3 separate regions of the Homo sapiens genome follow, and regions 1 and 2 are each linked to region 3. The links are contacts of gene promoters, found by promoter capture Hi-C in human tissues and cell types (Jung and others, 2019). All regions are on one chromosome and are shown on one strand. Each heading gives the region's core, a stretch centred on a gene start or on the middle of the fragment in contact. The rest is flanking DNA. Distances are from core to core; before and after follow the strand shown. Region 1 overlaps GRIK4 (glutamate ionotropic receptor kainate type subunit 4). Region 2 has its middle 75 kb from the start of SC5D. Region 3 holds the start of TECTA (tectorin alpha).

What was found. Contacts are between HindIII fragments. The study calls those that stand out against the background at their distance.
Region 1: a contact is called between a fragment that was not itself captured here and the fragment with the promoter of TECTA in region 3, in 2 of the 25 tissues and cell types used here (hippocampus and spleen).
Region 2: a fragment that was not itself captured here is called in contact with the fragment with the promoter of TECTA in region 3 in 2 of the 25 tissues and cell types used here (H1 embryonic stem cells and mesendoderm cells).

Annotation. Positions count from the first base shown.
Region 1 is chr11:120,988,597-120,991,296 of GRCh38, reverse strand. It overlaps GRIK4 (glutamate ionotropic receptor kainate type subunit 4), which reads right to left. Exons shown (of 21, transcript NM_014619.5): 21 at 2,391-2,700. Among named protein-coding and RNA genes, the nearest start is that of TBCEL, 34 kb to the left of the region's middle. The HindIII fragment of the contact is 4,948 bases long and covers 1-2,700 here.
Region 2 is chr11:121,216,337-121,219,036 of GRCh38, reverse strand. No RefSeq gene overlaps it. Among named protein-coding and RNA genes, the nearest start is that of SC5D, 75 kb to the left of the region's middle. The HindIII fragment of the contact is 8,183 bases long and covers 1-2,700 here.
Region 3 is chr11:121,099,891-121,102,590 of GRCh38, reverse strand. It overlaps TECTA (tectorin alpha), which reads right to left and starts at 1,348. Exons shown (of 24, transcript NM_005422.4): 1 at 1,149-1,348. All of the region lies in intron 7 of TBCEL-TECTA (TBCEL-TECTA readthrough), which reads right to left. The HindIII fragment of the contact is 17,013 bases long and covers 1-2,700 here.

The DNA.
Region 1 (2,700 bases), core at 186-2,685, 110 kb after region 3:
ATCTTTTTTTTTTCTGAAAAGAGCTCCCAATCCACTTCAGACAGTTTCATTGCTTGTTTCAGTTAGCCTTTCTGTATTCTGTAGGGCTAGGCTGTTTGTATCTGCAGCTGATTCCACTAATACAACTTAAAGAAGCCAAGGGATGAGACATTGGTGAGAATCTCTAGTGTTGGCAGCAAACAGGAAGAAGCATCGTTTGAGAGCCAGAATTCCTCAAAAAGGGACGAACTGGGTGAAAACAAAACAACAGCTACAACAAACTATCTTTCATCAGAGGGGTGCTGAATTCATCAACATGAATTAACCATATTTCACTCCAAGGGCAATGAGCAAGATCTTATTTCCCAGACATCAAAAAAATAAATTAATTAATTAACAACCCAAACACACAAACAGTCCTGCTTCCTCCACCCAGCCTTCCTTTGCTCTTTTAACTACTTAGAATCTTGAGCTCCTCTGAATTTCTACATGGTTAATATTCCAAACCACACACTGTAGCACTTTTATTGTTATATTTTGTGTGATTTTTTTTTTCAGTTTCTTACAGGTAAAGTTAGTTTTTTCCTTCAAGCAGAGTATAGATCACTGCTTCTATGTCTCATTTCTGGCAAGATCTAATGTGGTGCTGGGTGCTAGGTAAATACCCTCTCCAGGTCACTCACCAATCTATGGAAAAGTGCCAGTGTTCCCTGACAACCAAGAGACAACACTTGATTGGTCACAAGGCATACTGAAGAATGGGCAGGATCTTCAGCTAATTTTCTACAGGAGGATCTTTTGCCCTAGATACAGATGATGGAGGGATTTGTCATCCATCATCTGTATCTAGTCTAACTTGTAAATAGGATCAAGTCCCCAGTAGGTACACCATCAGTCACAATGCACTGACATGCTTCGGTAAATCCTGGTGAGTGAAATATTTATATGCATATGCTTAGTTAACCTACAGCTATAGTATATGCTCAATTTTTTTATGACCCTTCTTGGGGCCTCAATTTTCTGCCACTTCTGGTAGAGAGCTTATTTTTTACTTCGTTGCCTTCATAGACTTCTTTCTTTCTTGATCTCAGCATTAGTTCTGCTGTTTGTTGAATGGTAACATTCGTATTTGTTTAATTCATTCTCCAGATTTGGAAATTGGTATGAAATTCATAAAACTTGAATGATAATGTTCTTACGGTAGTGGCGGAACTTCTCTTGCTTGATTGCCCTCAAATTACAAGAAGCTTGTTGACCATGTAGGCTCTAAAATTCGGAGTTTTTTTTTTTCCTTTGGAAGCCACACCCAGTAACAACTTTTTCCCCTATGGGAAAAGTCTTAGGAGAGCATGCTATCCCCAGCCTTTGAGGCAAACCTTAGGATGGGCAGGTTGTCAGTTCCTGAGGGCACTCTCTGTTTGGCCACTGTGGGGACCTGCCTGTGGGGAGAAAGTCACCATTCACCGAAAGGCAAAGGAATTACTCATGGTGCTTTAATTTCTCTTTGAGAAGGCCCCATAGGAAGCACTAGCTATAAGCAAAATCTTTATGAAAGGATTCCTTCTCTGAATTTTCCAAACAGGCCTCTTCGTTATTACCCCGAGAGAGCTGACAACTAGTCAGGCACTCAAATCTCCCTTATCATTTCCAGACTGTTTTACCTTGCTGTGAACACCCCATTGGTGGGAGGGCCACAAATGAGTCTCTCAAGCTTCTCTCAAACCACCAATCTGGTGTTGCTGAAATGCCCCAGCCCTTTTCTGGCCTTGTGTACTTGACTCCTACAACATGGGGAAGTTCCCCCTTGGATTCCAAAAGAAAATTAAGCTCCTTGGAATCCAAAACTAAGAAACTTTCACAGAGTGGCCCCAGGTGGATTGGTTATCATGATATTTCAGTCTCACCTAACCAATAAGAGAGCTGGCTGGCAAGTTCCCAGGAAGAATATTCTCATATGAGCAGTGGATTAGAGGAAGCCAAAAGATTTTCGGCCCTCTCCGTGCTCAACTTACACTCTACCTGGTTTCTGAGGTGAGATCTTGTGACGGTTGGGGCCCTGCAAAGCAATTAAAAGAAATAAAGCAAAGTATTATATTTTAATTGATGTAATCTTCAAGCTCCCAGTGGAATCTGGGGTGATATCTGACTAGAGTTACCCTAGGTATCAATAGATGACTATTCTGTGAAAGTGCATTTAGGAAGACAAAACCCTAGGAATCCTGAACTTCATTAACATATGTATCCGCTTTTGGGGATGGGGGGGTGGATTGGCTCAGGCTCCTAGGACTAAAAATTGAAAGAAGCCACCTAGACTTTTCTGGGATCTGAACAAAGAGCCAAAGCGGGTGGGGGAGTAGAGAGGGAGGTGGAGAGAAGGAGACAGAGAGGGCAGGTGGAGGGGAAGACAAAAAGTGGGTTTATGATTTTATTTGCTTTTCAAGTCTAGTACCTGGATATTAGACACACTGAACCATACTTTCTAAACCCAAACAGCTGTCATCCATCACTAACATTTCAGGATTTGTTTCTGTTTTATTGTAAATATTCCAGTTGAAGAAAGATAAACAGACAAGAAAAAACTGCTTTATACAGTATACAGAGTCAGATAGAAAATACAGAATGGAAAAGAAAGCCAACAACCAACAGATAAAAAGTGGAAACAAACCAAGGAAGAGTATTAGCTGGTTGCAAATTCACCCACTAGCTTGAGCAAGGTGAGGC
Region 2 (2,700 bases), core at 50-2,549, 120 kb before region 3:
ACCAGGTACTCTGCTCTATTTTGGCTTCACTTCTTACTTGCATGGGGCGAGCCAGAGGTAAGAACTTAGCACTCGCTCAGATCTTTCCTGAGCACTTGCAGAGCTCTGGGCTTGTGCACAATCCTTTGCTTCTGTGTGGCCTTCTAGATTCCCAGGAATATGTCAGAGCATTTTTAAGCCCCATGTAGACATTTCACACCTTGCCTTTTTCCTCCAGCTTTTTGGTTATCCTATTGTGCTTTGAAGGAACACTAGCCCCTTTCTGCTACCTCCAGTGGCTGTCAGGCTACTGGTTTTAACCATTATTGTGGGCCATTGATTTTTGTGGCTACCCTATAGCCAGAAACTGGGAAGGGAAATGGCAATTGGAATGTCATGAGGCTCATTGTTCTTACCAAGATTCAACCATTTTTTCTTGAAAAAAAAAAATGCTCCCTGATGGCTTCAAGCCTTTGATTAATTTCTAAAATTCTGAAAAAGTTGACTCTGACAATTTTGCCAGTGTGCTCATTGCTTTTATGGAGGATAGAGTTTTGGGGGGGTCCTTACTCTGTCATTTTCACTGATGTCATCTTTATAGTCTTTTTTTAAGCTTTGATTTTCTATGTTTAAAAAATTTTTTTTTAATATTTTAGATTTAGGGGGTACATGTTCAGGTTACTAACATGGATATATTGTGTGATGCTGAGGTTTAGGCTTCAACTGAAACTGTCACCCAGATAGTGAACATAGTATGTGACAGGTAGTTATTCAGCCCTCCCTCTCTCCTTCCCCTCTTTTGGAGTCCTGGATGTCTATCATTCCCATCTATATGTCCATGTGTACCCAGTGATTAGCTTCCAATTATAAGTGAGAACATGCAGTATTTGGTATTCTGTTTCTGTGTCGATTCACTTAGGATAATGGCCTCTGATTGCATCCATGTTGCTGCAAAGGGCATGATTTCACTTTCTCCTGTGGAAGCATAGTATTCCATGGCGTGTATGTACCACATTTTCTTCATCCAGTCTACCACTGATGGCCGCCAAAGTTGATTCCATGTCTTTGCTATTGCAAATAGTGCTGCAGTGAACATGCAAGCACAGACATCTTCTTATTAGAAAGATTTATTTTCTGGGGGTATATACCCAGTAATGGGATTGCTGGGTTGAATGGTAATTCTATTTTTAGTTCTTTGAGAAATCTCCAAACTGTTTTCCATAAGGGCCGAACTAATTTACAGTCCCACCAACAGTGTATAAGCATTCTGTTTTCTCCACAACCTCTCAACCCCTGTTAATTTGTGTTTTTTTTTTTTTACTTTTTTAATAATAACCATTCTGAGTGGTGTGAGATGATATCATATTTTGGTTTTGATTTGCATTCTTTGATGATTAGTTATAATGACCATTGTTTCATATGTTTATTGGCTGTTTGTATGTCTTCCTTTGACAAGTGCCTGTTTTTGTCTTTTGCCTGCTTTTAAATGGGTTATTTTTTTTCTTGTTAATTTGTTTAAGTTCCTTGTAGATTCTGGATATTAGTCATTTGTTGGATGCGTAGTTTGCAAATATTTTCACCCACTCTGTAGATTATCTGTTTCCTACGTTGATAGGTTGCTTTTTTTTTTTTTCCTGTGCAGAAGTGCTTTAGTTTAATTAGGTCTCTTTATCAATTTTTGATTTTGTTGCATTTACTTTTGAGGACTTAGTCATAAATTATTTGCCTAGGCAAATGTCCAGAAGAGTATTTCCTAGGTTTTCTTCTAGAATTTTTATAATTTGAGGTCTTACATTTAAGTCTTTAGTCCATCTTGAGTAATTTTTTTTGTATAAAGAGGTCAAGTTTCATTCTTTTGCATATGGTTAGCCAGTTTTCCCAGTACTGTTTATTGAATAGAGTGTCCTTTCCCATTTCTTTATTTTTGCCCATGTTGTCAAATATCGTTTGGTTGTAGATGTGTGGTTTTATTTCAAGAGTCTCCATTGATCCATGTGTCTATTTTTGTACCAGTACCATGCTATTTTTGTTACTGTAGCCTTGTAGTATAGCTTGAAGTCAGGTAATGTGATGCCTCCAGCTTTGTTCTTTTTGCTTAGGATTGCTTTGGTTATTTGGGCCCTTTTTTGGTTCCATAAGAACTTTGGAATTGTTTTTTCTAATTCTGTGAAGCATGATGTTGAGATTTAATAGAGATTGCATTGAATCTATATATTGCTTTGAGCAGTATGGATATTTTAACAATATTGATTCTTTCAATCCATGAGCATGGAGTGTTTTTCCATTTGTTTATGTCTTCCATTATTACTTTTATTTTCAATCTACCCTTAGTAAATTTTAAGTATACAATAAAGTATTGTTAATTGTACTCACATTGCTGTACATTAGATGTCCAGAACATATTCATCCCACATAACAGAAACTTTGCACTACTTGCCTAACATATTTGCATTTGTCTCCCTCCACACCCAAGATTTTTTTTAAGCTGAAAAATATTTCTCTGTGTATATATGTGTGTGTGTGTTTGTGTGTGTGCATATTTGCATGTGTAGTTCCACATTTTCTTTATTCATTAATCCATTGAGGGACATTTAGGTTGTGTCCATATCTTAACTATTATGAATAATGCTAAAATAAACATGCAAGTGTGGATTTTTTCAAGATCATAATTTCATTTTGTTTGGATATACACTTACTAATGGGATTACTGAATCATATGGA
Region 3 (2,700 bases), core at 99-2,598:
GGCTAATCCCAAGACCATCAAAACCGTCATAGAACAAATTCACATAACAACATCAACAGTGCTGAGTCGGGCTGAAATCCCCTGAATGCTGGCAGGTCCTCCGAAGTTCAACACTTCATGAACAAATTAGATGCCCAGAAGAAGCCAGTCTGGAAGTGTAATGAGATCATTCAAACTGTCAAGTAATTATTTAGGATCAGTGAGAGTGGTATGCGTAAAGGAAAGGTATCCCCTCTGCATCAAATAAAGCGCTGAAAACTAGGACCCAACGCTAAAGATGCATGCAGGTCCCGGGTTGTGTCTCTGCAGCAGAAACCACACCCCAGTGAGACCTGGATTTCCTAATTTTCACTACAGCTTTCCATCAGAATCAAACAAAAGTTGGTTAAAACACAATGTGTTCTACAGCTAGGAGAATTTAGAGTCTGCCATCACCTTCTCCATAGAATGGAGCCGATCCATCATTTTGAAGTATTGACCAGATTCAGGGCCAGTCTACTCTGTTCACTGACTTCCCACAGTGAAATGAATGATAGAAACATTAGTAATAAAAAAGGACCAATCCAGAGTTGGAATCACAATAAAAATAGAATCCAGCGCACAAGCAACCAATTAGTTCCAGCAAGTTAATTAAAGAAGGAACACAGCAAAGAGAAACTTGTTTTCGTGTTAGTTTACAATCGGTTGCATGGTGGCTTTACCCTCCATCAGGAGCATGTTTTGTCTGTGTCACTCTGCAAAGCTGCGATGAGAACACGGACGCAAGCTCAAGTTAGACATCACCCAAGCGTGTGGCTAGACCATGAAGTCTCCTCCTGACAGTATTCTTAAAAAAGAAAAACCTTCCTCTTATCATTTGAAGTTATCACAATTCTTCAGCCAAACTTTCACGGGAAAGGCAATGAATTTATCCTGTGAGAGTTTTATTGCAAATCTTTAGTTGTCAAGTATATATGTTGTAATTTCAAGCACATATTAAATATTAGACAGTTTTGCTGGAAAGGGTACAAAGGTTTAGCAGAGATCACACACAGCTTTAATGGAGAAGATGCCGTGCAAGTTTAAGACTAGAGCCCTTAGGGAACCGGTTCAGAGAGAAGTAAGGAGGATTCATTTAGATATTTGTATTTATGAAAAATGTCACTAACCTGTTCTGTAGAGGCTGGAGGAACTGAGTCAGAAATATTAAGCCAAATCTTGGTAAGCCAGAAAAAATTAGGTAAAACAAGAATTCATGTCAGTTCTCCTCAACTTGTTGCCAATAATTTCTGATTCCTGAAATAATGTCTGAATCTCGTACTCTTAAAACCAAAAATTAAGTTAGTCCTGCACTAGAGACAGGTAAGTGTTGAGCTGCAATCAAGTTTTTTTCTATTGATTAAGGAAAAGTAAATCTAAAGATCAGTTTCAGGATTGCGTAGAGAGGTTCTTTTCCTGAAAAACTAGACCTTTTTTTTTCCCCTTTGAAAAAAAAAGTAGATTCAGATGGAAATGTCAGGTACTTGGAGCTGAAACCTTGGGCCTTTCTGATCAGAATCACTTTGCACTGAAAAACACAAAAGAAAACCCCCCTTCTACCTTTGTACCCAAAAGAAGGCAACTGTATAATGTTACAGAATTAGCATCCACCAGCATGGGATTAAAACTCCAAACAAAGCAGCTGCCTCCAACATTTAAATGAAGTTGGTTTTCTATTAAAGTCTTTTTTTGTTTCTCTGGTTTTCAACAGTCGCCACAGATAGGCTCTACTCTATTTTTTCACAGGTATGCATGAAGTATTTAAAGAAAATTTCCAAACTTTTTAGGTTTTATGCCCTCTCTTTTCTCTCTGATGCACCGCTCTGCAGGAGATAGGACAGGGCACTTTCCAGGCAAAATCTAACAAGGGACCTAGCGCTAGACACGATCTTCCACAAGGGAAATCTCAAACTGTGGCCTGGAAACCTTCCCTAACACCCAGTGAGGGTCACTGGAGGCAGAGGGGGGAGATAAACCCCTTCTGATAAAAAATTTGCAGTAAGTAAATAGTTTAAAAGGCATGTGAATAAGAGGAAAACGTGCTCGGTTAGATGCTTCCAAGCATCCAGTAGATGTGGAATGAGCAAAACTGGCTAAGGCATAAGCTAAATCTACTATTCAAAATGTTTAAATGGAATTTATTAAGAAAGAAGTAACTTGACTGTAGCAGGAAAAAAAAACTCTTCTGCACATCAATGGGAATTTAAAAATTACTGCAAATTTTCTCTGACCAGACATTTAAATGCCAACTGTACAAAAGAAATATAATTCTGGGTTTAAGCATGTTGTCTTAAAATGGACAAGAGTGCTTGGCGAGCTAAATTTTTTTAGTTTAAATTACTCCGTGTTTTTCCAAAAACCTGTGATAATTCAGTAGGTTTCCCACATTGTTTATTCTCTCACTGGTATTATGAATCCTCCACACATATTTACTTACAGATGTTAAATGACTGCTTCTTTCCAAATGACTCACATTTATTTGTTTTTCTTTGGATTCTAGGAGTGCTTAGAATGGCGTATATTTATATAACAGAAAAGCTAGTTTCTTGGGTGCCTATTTAAAATAAAATTAAGTTCAAATCAAAGACTCATTACAGAAGGATTCTCTTTGTCCAGCCTTAGGTTTTAGTCCAGTAGCCAACCTAAATGTCTTGAAGCAAAATCGCTGGCTGTGTTTTAATT